Regions from separate parts of the Homo sapiens genome. Here regions 1, 2, 4, 5, 6 and 7 are each linked to region 3. The links are contacts of gene promoters, found by promoter capture Hi-C in blood cells and fetal thymus (Javierre and others, 2016). All regions are on one chromosome and are shown on one strand. Each heading gives the region's core, a stretch centred on a gene start or on the middle of the fragment in contact. The rest is flanking DNA. Distances are from core to core; before and after follow the strand shown. Region 1 has its middle 33 kb from the start of ANKRD60. Region 2 overlaps LOC105372694 (a long non-coding RNA gene). Region 3 holds the start of CTCFL (CCCTC-binding factor like). Region 4 holds the start of VAPB (VAMP associated protein B and C). Region 5 overlaps CIMIP1 (ciliary microtubule inner protein 1). Region 6 has its middle 2.3 kb from the start of ANKRD60. Region 7 overlaps LOC107987284 (a long non-coding RNA gene).

The links. Contacts are between HindIII fragments. The CHiCAGO score rates a contact against its expected background, and 5 or more counts as called.
Region 1: a fragment that was not itself captured here is called in contact with the fragment with the promoter of CTCFL in region 3 in 3 of 17 cell types (endothelial precursors, M2 macrophages and naive B cells); the score reaches 7.2 in endothelial precursors.
Region 2: a contact is called between a fragment that was not itself captured here and the fragment with the promoter of CTCFL in region 3, in 12 of 17 cell types (M2 macrophages, total B cells, M0 macrophages and 9 more). The highest score is 10.3, in M2 macrophages.
Region 4: a contact is called between the fragment with the promoter of VAPB here and the fragment with the promoter of CTCFL in region 3, in 5 of 17 cell types (M0 macrophages, naive B cells, M2 macrophages and 2 more). The highest score is 10.2, in M0 macrophages.
Region 5: a contact is called between a fragment that was not itself captured here and the fragment with the promoter of CTCFL in region 3, in 5 of 17 cell types (M1 macrophages, endothelial precursors, M0 macrophages and 2 more). The highest score is 7.3, in M1 macrophages.
Region 6: a fragment that was not itself captured here is called in contact with the fragment with the promoter of CTCFL in region 3 in 4 of 17 cell types (M2 macrophages, M1 macrophages, erythroblasts and 1 more); the score reaches 11.1 in M2 macrophages.
Region 7: a fragment that was not itself captured here is called in contact with the fragment with the promoter of CTCFL in region 3 in 4 of 17 cell types (endothelial precursors, M2 macrophages, monocytes and 1 more); the score reaches 8.6 in endothelial precursors.

What each region holds. Positions count from the first base shown.
Region 1 is chr20:58,194,748-58,197,447 of GRCh38, reverse strand. No RefSeq gene overlaps it. Among named protein-coding and RNA genes, the nearest start is that of ANKRD60, 33 kb to the left of the region's middle. The HindIII fragment of the contact is 1,765 bases long and covers 474-2,238 here.
Region 2 is chr20:58,175,210-58,177,909 of GRCh38, reverse strand. All of the region lies in intron 2 of LOC105372694 (a long non-coding RNA gene), which reads left to right. Among named protein-coding and RNA genes, the nearest start is that of CIMIP1, 26 kb to the right of the region's middle. RefSeq lists an enhancer at 1,723-2,223. The HindIII fragment of the contact is 7,423 bases long and covers 1-2,700 here.
Region 3 is chr20:57,523,819-57,526,518 of GRCh38, reverse strand. It overlaps CTCFL (CCCTC-binding factor like), which reads left to right and starts at 1,379. Exons shown (of 11, transcript NM_001386993.1): 1 at 1,379-1,491; 2 at 2,303-2,700. The coding sequence starts at 2,314. RefSeq lists an enhancer at 2,250-2,700. The HindIII fragment of the contact is 10,995 bases long and covers 1-2,700 here.
Region 4 is chr20:58,387,947-58,390,646 of GRCh38, reverse strand. VAPB (VAMP associated protein B and C) reads right to left here and starts at 1,418. Exons shown (of 6, transcript NM_004738.5): 1 at 1,130-1,418. The coding sequence starts at 1,187. RefSeq lists silencers at 890-1,009, 1,270-1,709. The HindIII fragment of the contact is 12,509 bases long and covers 1-2,700 here.
Region 5 is chr20:58,154,582-58,157,281 of GRCh38, reverse strand. CIMIP1 (ciliary microtubule inner protein 1) reads right to left here. Exons shown (of 4, transcript NM_178456.3): 3 at 1,713-1,814. LOC107985434 (a long non-coding RNA gene) reads left to right here. Exons shown (of 3, transcript XR_001754692.2): 2 at 453-584. Among named protein-coding and RNA genes, the nearest start is that of CIMIP1, 5.0 kb to the right of the region's middle. The HindIII fragment of the contact is 2,611 bases long and covers 1-2,569 here.
Region 6 is chr20:58,229,588-58,232,287 of GRCh38, reverse strand. No RefSeq gene overlaps it. Among named protein-coding and RNA genes, the nearest start is that of ANKRD60, 2.3 kb to the right of the region's middle. The HindIII fragment of the contact is 2,638 bases long and covers 26-2,663 here.
Region 7 is chr20:58,133,464-58,136,163 of GRCh38, reverse strand. LOC107987284 (a long non-coding RNA gene) reads right to left here. Exons shown (of 3, transcript XR_001754693.2): 3 at 2,337-2,700. All of the region lies in intron 2 of LOC107985434 (a long non-coding RNA gene), which reads left to right. Among named protein-coding and RNA genes, the nearest start is that of CIMIP1, 16 kb to the left of the region's middle. The HindIII fragment of the contact is 2,899 bases long and covers 1-2,700 here.

The DNA.
Region 1 (2,700 bases), core at 107-2,606, 670 kb before region 3:
ATGTGAGTGTTTTTTTTTTTTTTAAAGGCACCTACAGATATTGAACAGATGAAAGGTTGTAGAGTTCAAGAGAAAGGGGGATTCTCCTTTGCTGAAAAGCAGCCTCATGAATCGTGAATGCTTACGACGGTGTGCTGGTGGGACAGCATCAGTGCCACAGAAGTGTGAGCCTGGCTCCGTCCTCAAAGATCTGCTGACCTAGCAAGGAGAAAAGAAGCGAGGGAGAGGCGGAGGGCCAGGAGAGGTGGCCCCGGTGACGGGGCGGAGTGGGAGAGGAGGGCCAGAAGAGGTGGCCCCGGTGACGGGGCAGAGTGGGAGAGGAGGAGGCCCAGGAGAGGTGGCCCCGGTGACGGGGTGGAGTGGGAGAGGAGGAGGCCCAGGAGAGGTGGCCCCGGTGACGGGGTGGTGGTAAGATGGATGGGCCAGCGGGGCTAGAGGTGAAGGTGACCAGCTCAGTGTGGTTGTGCTAAGCTTCAGGCCAGTGGGACACTCCGGAGGCAGCACAAAGGGTTAGGGATAGAAACCTAGGTTTAGGAAAAAATGTGTGTGTCTGTGTGTGTGTGTGTGTGTTTGTGTGTGTGTCTGTGTGTGTGTGTCTGTGTGTGTCTGTGTGTGTGTCTGTGTGTCTGTGTGTGTGTGTCTGTGTGTGTCTGTGTGTCTGTGTGTGTGTGTCTGTGTGTGTGTGTCTGTGTGTGTTTGTGTGTGTCTGTGTGTGTGCACGTGCGCATCAGGCGAGGGTGTGGATGAGGAGCCACAGGGAAAGCTGGTGGCACGAGAAGAGGAGGGTCGAGGAGAGAACCCAAGGGGATGCGCTGGAGAGCCAGGTGGGGGAGAGATGCTGGGTGTCTGGGTCCTCGGAGAAGTAGACACCCATGCAAGAGATAGGGAAATGGGGAGGAGGCAGGGACGCTGGGAGAACCTTGTAAGGAGAAAGCGAAGGAAGGGGACGGACGTGTGTTCGAATGCACTGCAAGGCAGTATCTTGCAGAAGGGATCCATCTTAGCGTCCTGGACATGCCCGTGATGGGCAGAGCGTGCCTTAGGCGTGAAAGCCAGGATGTTTTCAAAGGGAGGCAGCTGGGGCTACCCAAGGCCAGTTCCACCCCCTGCAGGCAGTAAGAGGTCTTCGGGGACATTTCCATGGCTGCCGCCATGATGCCCAAGACTGAGAAGTGGCAGTCTAAGCAGAGGGGGTGCAGGATTTCTGCTGTCCACTTGTTCATTCGCCCACTCATCAAACATCCTTGAGCACCTACTACGTGCCAGGTGCTGTTCTGGGCAGACACAGCAGCAGTGAACAAAATAGAGAACGTCCCTTCCTTTGCGTGGCTTACACAATAGCATGGCATGCCAAATCCCAGAGGGAAAGAATAGCAAGGATTTCAAGACGGAGGTGATAACCAGGATGGGTGACGTAGGATGAGGAGGATTGGAAGGTGGGTTGGGTTAGGCTACAGGGCGGCCACAGCAGGTCTCTCCAGGGGGATTCAGAGGAGTCGAGAGGAGGTGGAGGCAGAGGGGATGGGGAAAGGTGGGTGGGTGGGCACAGAGAAGCTGAGGCAGGAAGTGGAGACTCATTTTTTTTTAATTAATTAATTAATTTATTTAGAGACGGAGTCTCACTCTGTCACCCAGGCTGGAGTGGAGTGGCTTGATCTCAGCTCACTGCAAGCTCCACCCCAGGTTCAAGCAATTCTCCTGTCTCAGCCTACTGAGTAGCTGGGATTACAGGCATCTGCCACCACATCTGGCTGACTTTTGTACTTTTAATAGAGGCGGGGTTTCACCATGTTGGCCAGGCTAGTCTCAAGCTCCTGACCTTAAGTGATCCTCCTACCTCGGCCTCCCAAAGTGCTTGGATTACAGGCGTGAGCCACCATGCCTGGCCCAAGACTCATTATTATTATTTTTTTAATCTCAGGAGCTTGGCTGGGAAGAGGACTGTAAAAGTAATAATATTAATTCTTAATGAACTTCAAGTGGTCCAGACATGGACAACATAAAAAGTGGAGATTTCGCTTCATTTGTCCCACTGAAGATAATCAACACAAACAGTCTGGGTTTGGGGCAGACTTGGCAGATCGGCTGTCCTCCAACCAGCTCCCAGCTTCCTCCTCCATCGCCTGATTTCACTGTACAGGTAGAAATAACCCTATTCCCCAGCCGGTCTTGCAGCTGGCGGTGGCCATGTGACAAGTTCTGGCCAATGAGAAGTGTGCGAGGGTTGCTGAGAAAGCTTTTGCTTACTTAATAAAAGGACAGCATTGCTAGAGATGCCTTTTGTTTCTTCCTCCTGGCCTTGAATTCAGATGTGATGACTAGAGATGAGGCAGCCATTTTGCCATCATTAAGACCAAGAAAATTGCAGAGACTGCAGCTGTTATCCATGGAGCTGCTGAGCCAGGGTTAGCAGCTGCCACTCACCTTTTTCTGATGTGAGAAGACAAACTCTTAATTTTTAAAGTCACATTAGTGGATTCTTTGTTATTTCTAGCCAAGAGCTTCCTAACTGATACAGTCCATACCTTTCCAGGCTGTTTTCTGTCTGTCTGTCTGTCTGTCTGTCTCTCTGTCTATCTATCTATCTAAATGAGATTATACTATACATTCTATGCTACAATTTTTATGGTGCACATCTTTTTACATGAATATTCTTTAAAAAAATTGTTTTCAACAATTTTATTGTGCACACAAACTATA
Region 2 (2,700 bases), core at 67-2,566, 650 kb before region 3:
ATTTTTGTTGCAAACTGAGGAAGTATCTGGGGTGGATTAGGGCCCAGACTAGGGAGGGAGCTGGGATTGCTGTACTTTCACAGAGGGTTTTCTTTCCCAGGGTATGGGGCCAACACTTGGTCATGGGGCTTTGGTTTCTCCAGGTGTAGGGAAGGACCCTTGGCCCCTCTGCTTCAAGGCAAGCCCGTTGTGTCTGACCCCAGGCAGCAGGGGAGGGTTTGGGCCCACTACCCTGGTGGTCCTCCCCGGGGTGAGGACAGAGGCTTGAGAATCCCCCACTTGGTGAGGGGGAAGGAGGGAATTCTGGGAGTCAGGAGGGTGACAGGCCCTGGCAGGTGGGGGTCTTGGCTAGTACCTTCCTGCCAGAACAGGATTCCACAAGCCAGACAGATGGGGGAGAAGGTGGGGGTGGGGGAAGACTGACGGCATGTGACAGCGATGGCTGGGTTTTTTGTTGGCGTCTGGCTGGTGACCTTTTGGGGGAATGGATTCAGAAGTGACTGCTATTTGTCAAGGCCCAGTTCAGAGATGCCAGTGGGGGTCACCTCCTCAGGATTAAATGTCAGGGCCCTACTGTTGCTGGAAGTGGGATATACATCCCTGCAGGACACAGGCTGGTTGGGGCTTGGCAGTCTCCTGAGCCCAGGCGTGTCTGCAGAAATGCAGGTGTGCCTACCTCATGTGCTGTGATGTTAATTTGTGACTTGCTCTTGTGTGTGTGTGTGTGTGTTTCCTTTCTCCTCTTCCCAGAAGGCAGTGGAACTCCTTCATCAGGGTTTTGTGGTATGGAGTGGGGGACTGAAATTGCCCACTCCTGGTTTTTATTTTCAAAAGGAAGATGCCTTGTGGGGGGCATGGCTGAGATAGTGAGAAAAACAGCCACCAAGCTGGGAGGGGGTCCTAGGGCTGGGGGGGCCACAGCCCAGTCTCACAGCTTCCTGGGCAGATGGCAGAGTCTGCATTGGTAGGGCTGCCAGGAATTCCTGCCAGGCTAGACCCTGGATGCCCAGGCCCCTGCTTCTCCAAAGCCCCTCTGCCTCCACCTCTTGGCCTCTGCCCTCAAGAGACCCTTAGGGTCTATGTATATCAAGAGCCTAGGGACCAGAGCCACACCTCAGGGTTTGAAGTAGGCTGAATCACTTTGCTGGTGGCCTTAGGCGAGCCTCATCTGCGATAGGAATGGTGCCCCTCTGTAATCTGCAGTCAGGATTATTTAAACACATAAAGCACTTAGAGCAATGCCTGGCATAAAAGAAGTGCTCAATAAATAGTTGCCCTTGCTGTTCTTGTAAGTGATGACTGACCATTGTGAACTGAGAGTTCGGGGCTTCCCCAAGAGTTTGGCTCCATGCTAGGCCTCTGGGGCTTTGAGAAGGTGCGGGCGTAACAGCAGCCTCCATTTGGCTGGAACTGAATTTCTCATCAGCCCAGGGGCATGGGGGCTGGAGGCGCTTCTAGGGGGTTGGAAGAAAGTGGGGAATGAGTATCTCGAGAGCCCCAGTAAGCCCCAGACTCATGACCCCCTCTCGTAAGAGGCTCCTCAGATTGGGCCTGTGGTCTCCAAGGGTAATGGTGGGGACAGCTGGCAGCCACTGCGAGAACCCACCCTGTGAGTCATCTGAGTGGGTCCCCCCAGGGTCTTTTGAAGTCAGCTATGAGACCCCCATTTTATAGGTCAGGGCCCCATCAGGGGCTGCCCAACACTCATGGCTGGAGAGTGGGGGACCAGGGATAGAAGTACGATCACCTCCTTCAGGGCCTCTGCACATTGGACTCAACTGCCCTTATGGGGACACTGACTTCCCAGGGGGGACTTGGGCACAGGGTCTCCGCTGTCAGGACCAGCTCTACTCAGGGCGCAAGCCAAGCCAGGACCTGGTGCCCCAGCCCGGCCTAAGTTAGTGATGGAAGTGAGACCTGAACCCAAGCCAGCTCCCAGCTGGTGACTAACATGGGGACTATCACCACCATCCCCCTTGTCCATCCCGTCACCCAGGGACAGAACAAGTGACCACACCAGGACCCTTCTCTATGGGACAGATGCTAACCTGCAGTATGGGCATAATCTGGCCCTCTCCTGGGTAGATGGAGCTGTGGCCCCTTCTCAAGTGATGGCTGCTGTTGGAGGAATCCCTATTCCAAGCTCCAAGGCACAGCCCCTATGGTGCGTGCCTGCCGGGGCATAAACGCAGAGTCCATCCATGTCCTCTCCACACTACAGGGAGGACACAGACGAGGCCCTGATCACTCAAGAGGAAACCGTTCACCTGGGATAATGGGATGCAGTGGCTGCGGGTGGCCAGTGGGGACTTGAACCCATGCAGTCTGGTTCTGCCCAGTTGCTCAGCGCACACTAGGGCTGCTGGGGGAGGTGCTCCTGTCCTGGGAATGCAGATTCTCCCTGTGCTGAAGTTCAGAGAAAGAAAAGGAAGGAAAAAGGAAAATCTTCTTCCCTCCCATCCCCTCCTGTTCCCCGTTTCTCGCTCACTCTGTCTTCCTGTCCTTTCAATGTCTTCCTCCCTTTCTTTTCTTTTTCTGCCTGCCTGCCTTTCTGTCTCTCTCTCTCCCTTGTTTTTGCCTCTACTTGTCTGTTTTTCTTTCCCTTCTCCTCTCTTTCTGTCTCTGTCCCTCCCTCCCTCCCTCTTTTCCTTCTCTCCTTTCTCCTCCCACACCCTGGGGCGGGGGATGGAGGTGGGGGCT
Region 3 (2,700 bases), core at 130-2,629:
CAGCGTCTCCCAGTGCCCCTTGCGGCCATCCTCCCCTCCTTATCCATTTCCCCCCCAGGTCTCCCAGCGCCCCCTGAGGGCCCTCTTCCCCTCCTTATCCATTCCCCCCAAGGTCTCCCAGCGCCCCCTACAGGGCTCTCCTCCCCTCCTCATTCCACCCCTCCCCCCAGTATCTCAGTGCCTCCTGCGGGCCCTCCTCCCACCCTTATCCATTCCCCTCCCCTAGGTCTCCCAGCGCCCCCTGCAGGACCCCCTCCCCTCCTTATCCATTCCCCCACAAGGTATCCCAGCGCCCCCTGCAGGGCTCTCCTCCCCTCCTCATTCCACCCCTCCCCCCAGTCTCTCAGTGCCTCCTGCGGGCCCTCCTCCTCTCCTTATCCATTCCCCTCCCCCAGGTCTCCCAGCACCCCTTGCAGGCCCTCCTCCCCTCCTTATCCATTCCCCTCCCCCAAGTCTCCCAGCACCCCTTGCAGGCCCTCCTCCCCTCCTTATCCATTCCCCCACCCCTCGCCCCCCGCAGGGCTCCCAGGGCCCCCTGCAGACCCTCCTCCCCTTGTCCTCTCCTATTCATCCCCCAGGTCTCCCAAGAACCCCTGCAGACCCTCCTCCCCTCCTTATCCATTACCCTCACCTCAGGTCTCCCCGCCCCCCTGCAGGGCTCTCCCCTCCTCATTCCACCCCTCCCCCTGGTATCTCAGTGCCTCCTGTTGGCCCTCCTACCCTCCTTATCCATTCCCCTCCCCTAGGTGTCACAGGCCCCCTGCAGGCCCCCCTCCCCTCCTTATCCATTACCCACCACCCCCCTCAGGTCTCCCAGCCCCCCTGCAGGGCTATCCTCCCCGCCTCATTCCACCCCTCCCCCCCTCATTCCACCCCTCCCCCCAGTATCTCAGTGCCTCCTGTGGGCCCTCCTCCCCTCCTTATCCATTCCCCCTCAGATCTCCCAGGCCCCCTGCAGGCCCTCGTGCCCTCCTTACTTCCCCCCCGGGTCTCCCAGCGCCCCCTGCGGGGCCCTCCTCCCTTCCTCATCCACTTCAACCCCAAGGTATTTCCGTGCCCCTGCAGGACCCTCCTCCCCTCCTTAGGCGCTCCCCCACTACCCAGTCTTCCAGTGCCCTGCAGGCTCTCCTCCTCTCCTTATCCACCCCCACCCCAGGTCTCCCAGTGCCCTGTATGGGACCCTCCTCCCCTCCTCATCCACCCCCCCAGGTCCACCAGTGCCCCCTCTGGGGTCCTCCTCATCCGTGCTCCCCCTCCCCCTCCCTACTCCCCTTCCCCCCTGCCCCCACAGTACATCACCCCCTCCCCCAACCCTGCCTGGCTCCGCCCCCTTCACGCCCCCTCTTTTCCGCTCCGCGCCTGCGCACTGCCACCCTCCACTCTCGCGCCAGCCCGGCGGCGGCCGGCTGTGGGCTGCAGCACGCGGTGCACGAGGCAGAGCCCACAAGCCAAAGACGGAGTGGGCCGAGCATTCCGGCCACGCCTTCCGCGGTGAGGGGCCAGTCCCGGTCAAGCCCACCTGCTCTCCTCCAAGAGCATGGGCTGTTCTGGGCGTGGGCGGAGGGAGGGGCTGGCCGGAAAGGCCCAAGGGCGGGCGGCAGACGCTGAGGGGCTGCCTGGGAGGGTCGGGTCGGGGCGGGGCGTGGGGGGCAGGGTAAAGCAGGGGCCCTGCCAGGCCTCCGAGGGAGTGTGCTTGGTCTGGCCGAGGGCTGCTTGGCCAAGTCTGGGTGGGCTCGAGGCCACTAGGCCCAAAGCCTGCCTGGCTCTGAGGGTGCTAGGTCTAGAACCGTGCACGAGGGGAATGCCTGCTCGGGCCCGAACCTCGCTGGGCGCCGGGTGTGCACTGGCCCGGGGCCTGCTTGGACCTGAAACTTGCTAGGCCCAGGATATGCACTGGCCGAGAGCCTGCTGGGCCCAAACCTTACTAGGCCCAGGATGTTCACTGACTGAACCGGCTCAGGCCTAACCTTGCTAGGCCCAGGATATGCACTGGGCCAGAGTGTGCTCAGGCGGAACCTTGCCAGGCGCAGGATGTGTGCTGGCCCTAAGCCTGCTGAGGCCCAAACCTGTTCGTTCTAGGGTTTTGTACAAAATCCTGCTTTAGCCTAAATCCTGCTTAGCCTTGACCCCCTCCTAGACCCAAGCCAGATCAGCATTGTTCTGACCCTACTAAGTCCAAAACCTTTTGAGGCCAGACCTTGTTTCAACTCCAAAGCCTGCTAGGTTCCAGCACCCCCCGCATCCCTCCTCATACCACCCCCTTCTCCCCCCTATGGAAACCGCTTGCTTATTTTTCAAACAGGCCAAGTCATTATGGCAGCCACTGAGATCTCTGTCCTTTCTGAGCAATTCACCAAGATCAAAGAACTCGAGTTGATGCCGGAAAAAGGCCTGAAGGAGGAGGAAAAAGACGGAGTGTGCAGAGAGAAAGACCATCGGAGCCCTAGTGAGTTGGAGGCCGAGCGTACCTCTGGGGCCTTCCAGGACAGCGTCCTGGAGGAAGAAGTGGAGCTGGTGCTGGCCCCCTCGGAGGAGAGCGAGAAGTACATCCTGACCCTGCAGACGGTGCACTTCACTTCTGAAGCTGTGGAGTTGCAGGATATGAGCTTGCTGAGCATACAGCAGCAAGAAGGGGTGCAGGTGGTGGTGCAACAGCCTGGCCCTGGGTTGCTGTGGCTTGAGGAAGGGCCCCGGCAGAGC
Region 4 (2,700 bases), core at 169-2,668, 860 kb before region 3:
TCCAATCTAAAGTACGCTTCCATGGAGTCAGACTGTTCCATTTCCTACACAGCACTTAGCACTATCTGCAATGATCTTGTGTGTTGGTTTGTCTGTCCTCGTCGGAAGGTAAGCTCTGTGAGAGCAGAGGCCTTATCTGTCTTGTGCATCCATCACCTCCCCAGAGCCTCCCACATCACTGGATACACGCAAAAAGAAAGAATGAGCATGTCAGACAAGAACTTTTACCTCGTGGCCCTGGTGAAGGTAGGAAAAAAAAAAAAAAAACAAAAGTAACAACATAGAAAACATAAAGGCACAAATTACAGAGGTAATAGTATCTGGGAGAAACCAGGGTCATGGCTTCCCATCGCCGCAGGTGTTGCTCCAGACAGCTCTGCGGAGAAAAAGGATCCCAGCACCGTGGCAGCCTCCTTGCACCGCAACCAGGAGACAGCATGAGGGACGCAGTGAAAGGAAAATGGGCCCAATCCCATCAGAAGTCCTGAGGAGGTTCATTTGTTGGTTCAACATGTTCATCTGTTGGTTCAACAGGTATTTATTTACTAGGCGTATAATGTGTGCTGGGTACACAGCAGCGAACTGACAAGAGCCTGTCCTCATGCAGTTTCCCTTCTAGTATTGAAACAGTGATTTTGGGTATGAAAAGTGCCGTGCTGACCACGAAACAGTGACGGAATAGGGAATGACAGCAGGTGTGCACGGTGGCTGGGTGGTCACAGCAGGCCTCTCTGAGCAGCTGACACCTCAACTAAGCCCTGAGGTCAACACTGTCACGGAGCAGGGGAAGAAACTTCTAGGCAAAGGCAGCGGCGGAGGCTCACACTAGAGAGGATCACAAACTGGTAAGTTACAAAGTGACAAGTGCCTCGAAGGCAAGTCCCAGGAGGCTGGGGGTCGGGGAGGAGGCGCAGGCCCCGGCTCCCGCACCAGCCCTCTCGGGTCCCGGCCACTCCGGGCAGTTCTGGGGAGCGCGGCGAGCGCCAAGGCCCGGCCCGGCCTCGCCGCCCCCCGCGACAGCGCCGTCGGGGTGGGGACGAGGGCCGACGTCACCCGCCGCGCCGGGCTCCGTCCTTCCAGCACTGGGGCGGAGGCCGCGGGCAGGAAGGTGGCGGCCTCTGGGGCTTACCTCGGAATTTGAGCTCGTGCTGCGGCTCGAGGCTCAGGACCTGCTCCACCTTCGCCATGTTCCTTAGCGGCGGAGCACCTTTGGCGGGGAGACCCCTGAGAGGTCACCGGGGCGGGAAGCGTTAATGCTGCGCCCGCTTTAAGTTTTACAAAAAGGCGGGGACCGGTCGGGGCACGGGCGGGGGTCCTCTACCGGGTGGGCGCGCTGGGGGGGGGTCGGTCTACGCGGTGCAGGCGCAGGGGCGGAGGGCGAGGGCGAGGCCGCGGTGCCCGGCGAGCTGACGGCACGCACGCACGCACGCACGCACGCAGAGTCGTACACACGCACGCACGCAGCAGGCTGGCCCGCTCTGGCGGCGGGAAGCTGCGCCCTGCGCCGCCGGCTCCAGGGGCGGGGACTAAAGCTGCGCGCGTAGAGCCCCTTCCGGGACAGTGCGCAGGCGCGGCACAAGCCACGGGGGCGGGACTGCGGGGCAGTAAGGGGCGGGGCTTCGGGCCGCTCAGGAGGCGGGGTCTGTAGTCCAGCTACGACAGCCACCGCGGAAACTATTAAGGGCCCGCTGGGGGCCAGCTTCGTGTTAAGTGCTTTATTCAATAATAACAATTAGAATAAACTTCCACTTTTCTCTTGCTTATGTAGTGCCAGGCACTGTTAGAGACTTTGAATAATAGTGAAAGTACTTAGTATAAGTATAATGTTTATGGGTGAGTGATATGGGCTAGGCACTGTGACGTCTTGTAAATAATAATTATAAATATAATAAACTACCAATTATTGCTTATTTATTTTGTATCACTCTACTGAATGCTTCCAATAACAACAGCAACTACAATAAATACAAGCTACTCTACGTTAAATGTTTACTATGCAACTGGCACTGTGCTGAATTCTTTACTAGTAAATTCTATTTGTTTATGCAACAAATATTTAGAAATACAATGATCAGAAAAGCGAACCTGATTCCAATCCTTTTACTATAGCCTAGTGAAGAGACATCTTTTGAATAAATAACCACACACGTAAGTTAAATAATTAAAAATTGCTGGAGAATCCAGATCTGCTTGACCTCAAAAGTGGATACTCTACATCATGATTACCGTTTAAATTGTATTTCATTATATTATGTTTACTATGGAAGTTAAATAGGTGTTCTTAATAGTCTCCTATACATACCCATATAGGTGAGACAAATGTGGCAAATTGCTAGCAATGGCTGACTCTACATCGCAGGTATATGGTTTTCTTGTACTGTTTCTCCCACTTTGCTGTATACTTGAAATTTTTCATGATAAAAAGGTTTTTTAAAAGAATAGTCTTTGTATTTTAACTGGAGCATTTAGTCCATTTACATTTATTATATTTACTGATATATCTGGAATTATTTCTACCATTGTATTTTGTTATTTCTATTTGTCCTGCCTGGTTTTTTTCCCCTTTCCTTTCTTCTTTAGGGTTTATTTTTATTCTCATTCTGATTTTCTTCACCTGTATACTCTATTTCTAAGTTTTAGTGGTTACTTCAAACTTTTGGGCATGCATACTTACCTTGTGAAAGTCCAATATCTTTAAAT
Region 5 (2,700 bases), core at 15-2,514, 630 kb before region 3:
CCGGGGCTGCAGTGGAAGTAAGATGAGACACCCAATGTAAAGCAGTCACCACGGTGAGCGGCTAAGAGATAATAATAGCTTGAGCTGGTGGGGTGGTTACTCTTACAGGTCAAGGGATGTGTAGGAAAACCTCTGGAAGGAGCACCCCCAAAATGTTAATCATGGGTAAGAGCCTATATGTGGGTTTTAATTATATTATATTTTGGTGTATTTCTAAATATTTTTTAGCAGTGACTCTATATTGCTTTATATTTGGGGTAAAAACTGTCAACATAACTCAGTGGAGCTCATTCATTCATTCATTCATTGGGGCTCACAGATGCATACCCCCCAAATGCTCACTATGTGCCAGCTACCCCATCAGACCACGAGCATGCCAGGCAAAAGGCTGCAGCTGAACTCCTCCTGCCCTGCGGCCTTCATCTTGGGTTTTCATCTGCTCTCCCCATCAGCACGCAGAACCACCTTCTCCATAGCTGGGCAGAGGGCAGAACTCCCAGCCAAAATGACAGACCCATGAGACATATGGAGCTCAACTGTTTCTAGAGGGATCTGAGCCATGTCCGCCGTGGTGCAGGCTTCAGGTGAGAGCATCGTCTAAGGCCTCTTTTCTCTGGGTTTGGCCTGGTCACTCCTGTCCCTCTCCCCACAATCTTTTCTCCACTAGCAATGAGAGCCATCTTTCCAATAGGCAGGTCTTGCCTTTCCATGGCCCTGCTTACAACCCTCCAGCGGCTTCTCTAAATTGGACTCCAATTGCAACTCCTTCTTCTAGCCTGCCCACTTTTCCACTCACATCCCTTCTCCACCCACACCTTCTCCTCCTGCCCCCACCCTCCACCCAAGCTCCTGTCGCATCGCCTTGCCTTGCTGTTCCTGAAACATAGCAGCCTGTGTTCTATCTCAGGGCTTTCATACATGCTGTTCCCTGCGCCTAGAATACTTTTCCTAGGGCTGGTGCCTGGTCATCCTTCAGTCCTCAGCTCAAAGGGCCCCTTCCCTGACCACCCCGCCCTCTCTTATCCTGTGACACACCACCGGCCTGTTTCCTCCATGGTGCTAGCATAGCGTATCCAAATGGTGTTGATTTTCTTGGTTAATGTTGGTTCTCTAGACCCAGACATGTGGGCTGGGGTCTTGCCTTCTTGTTCATTACTGTTTTCCCAACCAAGCTGTTGCACCTTAGTAATAGCTGACTGTCATCGGCACTCTCTAAACATGCTGGGCAGCCTGCTGAACCCTGAGGGTACTCCCTGAAGTAGGTGCTTCATTAACCCCCATTGTATAAGACAGGCAGGGGAGACACAGAGAGGTCAAGCCACTTGCCCAAGACCACACAGAAGGTGAGCAGCCTATCAGCACAGGGATCTGGTGGTCTGATTCCAGAGTCCCTGCCTGGGTCTGCCCTGCCTTCCTGCCCACACCCTGGAAATGTTTGCTGAAAGAACGCATGAAGACCCCATTTTCCTGCCTTCTCTCTGCTTCTGCAGAGCAGGAGGTCATGGTGCTTGCACTTGTAGACTTTAGCCTGGCATGTTTCCCATGGCTGGGTTTGGGAAGGACGTGGACCTGGACTCTGCACCTGGCACTGCTGTGCTCTTACCTTCAGTGCTGGCTTTGCACATCTGGAGCCATCAGTTTCCACTGGGGCTTATTTCTTACTTAGGAAAATGAGTATTTTAAAAAAATGAGTATTTAAAAACGTTTCAAACCTTGATGTACTTCTCCACTGGGGTCACCGGCCGGATGCGGAAACGCTCAGGAAGCTCGATTTTGGGCTTTGGGGTGGGGAGATCTTCTTCACACTTGATCAACTGAAACAGAATCCCCAGAGATGGGAAGTCTTACGTGAAGCTGGGGGAAATGTACTGAAACAGAATCCCCAGAGACGGGAAGCCTCAGGTGAAGCTGGGGGAGTGTCCTCCCCATTGCTTCCCCTAGAAGGCGCATTTTATAGACACAGAAGTGGGGCATGGAAATGGGAGGCAGAGGCTTGTCTTAGTTACACCGTTAGGAAAGTAGGGTGGGGACCTCAACGCAGGCCTGCTGCACCCAAAGCTGAGACCCATCTCCATCCCCTCCTGCTGCTCACCACAGCCTCCTGATTTACATCCCCTGTGGGGGAATTTGAGAAAACGTTACCAGTTACGGACTCAAGTTTTAAAATGCCAAAAAGGGTTGAGTGTGGTGGCTCATGCCTGTAATCCCAACACTTTGGGAGGCCGAGGTGGGAGGATTGCTTGAGCTCAGGAGTTCAAGACCAGCCTGGGCAACTTAGCAAGACTCCATCTCTTCAAAAAATACAAAAATTAGCTGGGCATGATGGCATGTGCCTGTGGTCCCAGCTACTTGGGAGCCAAGGTGACAGGATGGCTTCAGCCTGGAGGTGGATGCTGCAGTGAGCTGAGATCATGCCACTGCACTCCAGCCTGGGTGACAGATCCAGACCCTGTCTCAAACAACAACAAACAAACTAACAAAAAATGCCAAAAAGTTTTCAGGACCGAACTTTAAAATATTAGAGGAGAGCGTCCACTCCCCTTTTTAATTTTTCAAGCAATATCAAGCTTTTTGAAAACCCAATTTAATTACATATAAAGAATATTAATATAGACTCCTTATGCATATTATATTAATAAGAACTCATTCTATGCATAAAATTTCAAACTGTGGAACCCTCTAAGAATTAAAAACACCCTC
Region 6 (2,700 bases), core at 95-2,594, 710 kb before region 3:
ACCTGGACAGGACTCAATAAAAGCTTTGTGTTTCTTGGATAGTTTATTTCTACACCACACATATAGGAAAATATCTTGAACTCTGCCCTACATGTACATTTCTTGCCACCTCACCCCCTGCCCCACCCTACCTACAACCTGCTCCTGCTCTGCACATTGCCATTTCTTTTGTATTGCAGGGAAAAAAGATAGTTACTATAATTTTAAAAATATGCATAACTGTTGGGAGTCCATCTTTAACATTTTAGAAATACTCTTTGATTTATTGTCCTGACATGTGGCTAACAAAAAACAAAACCGAGTGTGTTTTGAACACTGTTCATGGCTTACCTGATTCAGACTCATGGTTTCTCTCTTTAGCGTATTTTAGAAATGCTGGTAACCCTCATCTTGAAGTCATTGAAGAGACCATCTTAGCATTGCAGTCAGACCGGGACCAAGATGTTTCCTTTTTTGCAGCCCTAGAACCAAAGCGGCGGAATATCATAGACACTGCTGTACTAGAAAAACAGAATTAACTACTTCCGTGATGAGTTGCAATCTGATTATTTCATGCTTGGCACATATGGCTTACCATAACTTGAAGGGGAACTGATTGTATTATACCAGCTGGGGGAGATTTTGGAACCTTTCATACTGTGCACTCAGTGATTGACGCCTTTTCCATCTGTACCCCGAAGGGACTGAACCTGATGGGGGCTTTTTCTGGATGGCTGGGCCATCCTGATCAAGCCTGATCAGTAAGTCTGTGGAAAGATTGCAGACCAGGTGGCTAACTGGGCACTGGAGCCTCTGAACCATCAGGCTGTCTGCCAGCAAGTTCTTTTCTCCATGGCAGACTGTATGATCTGAAGTCCCCCCAACCCTCTCCAAGTAAAGTAGTTTATTAGAAGCTCTTAAGTCTTTAATAGACCTGCATATTTCCTTCCCTTATGATTTCCTATAAAATATAGTTTATGGTGTTATATTTTTAACTGAAATACTGTACATATGTAAATAACTCTTGACAGGAAGAAAATATATTAATGTAGTATTTGCCCCCTATCAGTGAGCTGAACAAATACATCATTTAAATCTATGCTGCACTTTGAGTTGCTACAAATATGGTTCGATTTGTTTATTTTTGAAAAATGTGATAAAGAAATCTAAAGAATGATTGATGGCAGTCTTTCTAATATTGTGCCTTTGTTATAAACTACTTGGAACTTTTCCTCAGGCACTCACTCCTCCCTGCCTGACAGGAACTGTTTCCATGAAGATATGTGTTGGCCTTTGATAGAGGCATAAAGCTGAAAGATTTTTCATTTTTATATGGATATGCTGTCATATGTTTAAGAACTTGAGAGGGAAATGGATAACTGAGGTTTTTCCATTTTTATATGGATATGCTATATGTTTAAACTTGGGAGGGAAATTGATAACTGAGATGCATGGATATTGACTTTATATCTAATGCTTTAGAATCTTAACCAAAAAAAGGAAAACCTAGTTCTGATCATAACCTGCCCACAAGTTCTACGCACCTGTGACTTTGGGGGTCAAATTATATACTCTTCAAATTGACTTAAGTACACACCGCTTAGATTTCATGCGTTTCAAATTTAGACTAAGAGAAAGATGCTCTAGAATTTAACCAGGTTTTTTAAATCAGTAATTTAAGATTTTCTAACCATTTGAACAAATTTTACTTACATGTATGCACATGTCATTTTTCGTGTTTCTATTTTTATGTTCTCAAAGGTAGGATAAGGGAAGGAAGGAGGAAACAGCCCATTTGGGGTTCAAGAGCTAGCTCTGCTAAGGGCTTGTAAGCTATTTCTATTCTGCCCTTTGGTCTTTTTCTTGTTTGTCTTGTCTTTATTTTTAAATGAAATTCTTGAAGCTATGTATTGAATTTTCTAGTATAGAGGATGTGACTTCCACCTCCAAATTCCATTTAACTGATTCTTTTAAAAGAAAGATAGGCGTATATACACCACGCCAAAATAATAATAAGGTACCTATGTGAGAATTGCAAATTATACCCCAGGGTAGCATTTAGGCAGCGTCGGCAAAAAGTGAGTTAATAAATCAGAAGCTACATATTAAAAAAAAAATCAGTCAATCCGTCGTGTGTTTAATTCTTGCCTAAAGTAAATGGAGATATTGTTTTGCTTTGGTAACCAGCAATTTTTAATTTTTTTTTATTGCCCGCAAATTGAGATTGTTTTGTTAAAATCTGTTGATCTAGCAGCAAGTAGAATTATTCAACTGGAATCTTGTATTCTATTCAGAGCTTAATTTTCCGTTAAGGAAAAAAATGAGCTTCAGTTTGTGTTGTGATGTGTATAATTTGCATGCTGAATCACAACATGCTTGGAGAGATTGTAGAGACTCTTTGGTAAATAATCTAACCTTTACAATTTCCGTTTATATGTTAACATTTTTCTATAATATGAGTGCCTTTCCAATGCACAGATATTTTTTATGGCTGTAATTTCTCTGTAAAAATAATTTTTAAGCATACATTTTATTCTTTTTTTGCAACAACCGAGATTTTTCCAAGATTGTTCTGTTTCCCCTCGCCCTCCTAGCTCCCGCCCCCGTCACTTCGGCGCTTGTATTTTCTAATTATTCATGGGTGCCATGTTGAGTGTTTGTAATTTGACCACCACAGGTAAGCTTCCTGTTTACTTGAACACTCAGCCTCATCTCCGGTGA
Region 7 (2,700 bases), core at 125-2,624, 610 kb before region 3:
CATTTTTTGTTTTGTCTGCTGGAAGACGCAAACTCTCATAGTTAATGCAGCCTTATCCCCTTTGGTTCTCAAATGATGAATCAGGCTCAGTCATTTTTGTGTATGTATTTGCAACACTCACGGCCGGGAGCGCTGAGTTCTTTTGTTTGTAAATACCTACTTGGGAGAGGTGCAGATTCAGAGCCGAGTATTTTCCTCCAGGGTGGGGCCGGCAGTGTATTGCCTTACTCTTGCACTGAGCAGTGAGAAGGGGTTGGAGCCGACAGGTGAGCTCCAAGTGCCCCCGTAAGCTGGGTGGTCATGGGTGAAAGAATTAATCTCTCTGAATAGTTGTCTGTAGAATGGGGGGATGACAGGAGTGCAGGCACAGCACAATGCCTGGGACATGGTCAAAGTCCCGTGAACTTGACCCCTTTTATCTGCGCTGTCAACGTTTTCCTCCCTCTGTCCTTCCTGACAGCGATTTCCCACCTGCAGTCCTGTGCATAGTAGAACGCTCAAAGAGAGAGCTCCACCTCACTTTGTCTGCAAGAATCAGCCAGAGCTGACTCTTATTCAAACTGGCACCACATCCGCGGGGTTCTAGCAAGAATTGCTGGGCTCCTAGCCAGGTAACTGGCTGAGAAGTGCTCACTCTATAGAGCCCCCACCGCCTCCCTGCTGGCTTACCTGAGGGGGCTTGGCAGAGTTGCTGAGCTCAGGGAGGTGGGGCTTCTGGAGTTTGAGACTTGGTCCTCTCCTCCCACTGCCTTCCCTGGCCACCAGTTCAGGGAGGCTGTGAGCAGAAGAGGTCCAAGTGACAGAGGTACCCTCAGCCACTTTCTGTTTCAGATGCTGGCATAGCTTAGCTTTTGATATACAAGAAAGAGACAATTTAAAAGATCCCTCCCTCCCTTTAAAAAAAAGACCTTATTTTTTTAAGAGCAGTTTCAAGTTCACAGCAAAACTGAGTAGAAGGTGCAGAGATTTTCCATAAACCCCCTGCCTCCACACAGGCACGGCCTCCCTCACTATCAACATCCCCCACCAGAGCGGGACACTCGCCTCCCTAATTGTGTTTGTTTTTGTCTTTTGCGCATCTTTTCTTTGTTTTGTGCCTCCTTAGTGTGGCCATAGAGTTGGAACCATACAGTGTGTGCTTTTCAGACTGACTTCTTTCACTTAGTAACATGCCGTCGGTTTCCTCCACATCTTTTCCTATCTCGATAGCTTGTTCCTTTCTTAGTACTGAATAAAATTCCAGTGCCTGGATGTACTACAGTTCATCCATTCACCAACCCAAGGACATCGCGGTGGATTCTAAGTTTTGGCAATTATGATGAAAGCTGCTCTAAACAAATCCTCTGGGTAAATATCAGGGAGCACAATTGCTGTGTGGTATGGAAAGAATATGTGTAACTTTGCAAGAAGCTGTGAAACTGTCTTCCAAAGTGGCTGCACCATTTTGCATTCCCACCAACCAGGGGTGAGAGCTCTCGGTACTCCAATCCTCACCAGCATCTGGTGGTGCCGCCTCCCCCCACTTTTTTTTTTTTTTGGACAAGGAGTTTTTTTTTTTTTTTTTTTAAAGACAGAGTCTCGCTCTGTCGCCCAGGCTGGAGTGTAGTGGCACAATCTCGGCTCACTGCAACCTCCGCCTCCCAGGTTCAAGCAATTCTCTTGCCTCAGCCTCCTGAGTAGCTGGAATTACAGGCGCTCGCCACCACACCCAGCTAATTTTTGTATTTTTAGTAGACACAGGGTTTCGCCATGTTGGCCAGGTTGGTCTCGAACTCCTGACCTCAAGTGATCCACCCGACTTGGCCTCCCAAAGTGCTGGAGTTACAGGCATAAGCCACCACACCTGGCCACCTTTTTAATAATAAAATATTTTATTTTTTAAATTATTGAAATAATGCATACTCAAATAAAAATATAATCTTAGAGTTCCTATGGAAGAAGAGATGCCCTCAGAATAGCTAGGAAATGTGGAAAATGAGAAGAGTGATGGAGGATTTACCTATCCAGGTATTAGTATAGGCTCTAAAGGTCCTGTAACCAAGTCAGTTTTGGTGTCGTGACAGGGACTAGATTAGTGAAGCAGGAAGTGAAGTGGAACTGTCCTTATAACTCAGAAGGTATATACGGAGAGAGCTGATGTTCAAGACAGGAGGATGGATGAACCCTTTGACAAATGGGAGAACATGAAAATGGAACCAATGGTCCATGGATACAGAAATCAACTCTAGAGGAATTAAATACTTACAAGTAACACAATAATCATAATAGTATTGCAAGAAATGTGTGATACTGCAGTTACAATCTAGGGGCCAGGGAGACTGGAAACCCAGAAGCTATAAAGAAAAGATGGATTTTTTATTTTATTTTATGAAGTTGAGAAGTTTTGCCTGCCCAAGAGATCACAAAGGCAATAAACAAAAGGCATTCCAAGAAAAACATTTATAACCAAGAAGTCAGACAAAGGGTTAACTTCTATGCAATACAAAAATTCAAATAATCCAGATGTGTTTAAAGCGAAATGTGAATGTGTTCCCCCTGCCTGCAAGCCCCTTCCCTGGGGGAGATCACTTTTAATGGTTTGATGAATTTCCTTCTGGATGCTTTTTTTCCCCGTCATGCTGCAAAAGGAATTAATTTTAGTTTTCCTCTGAGCTGCAGCGCTGGGAGAGCGGGAGAGCCAAGCTGCCTTTATTTTTATCG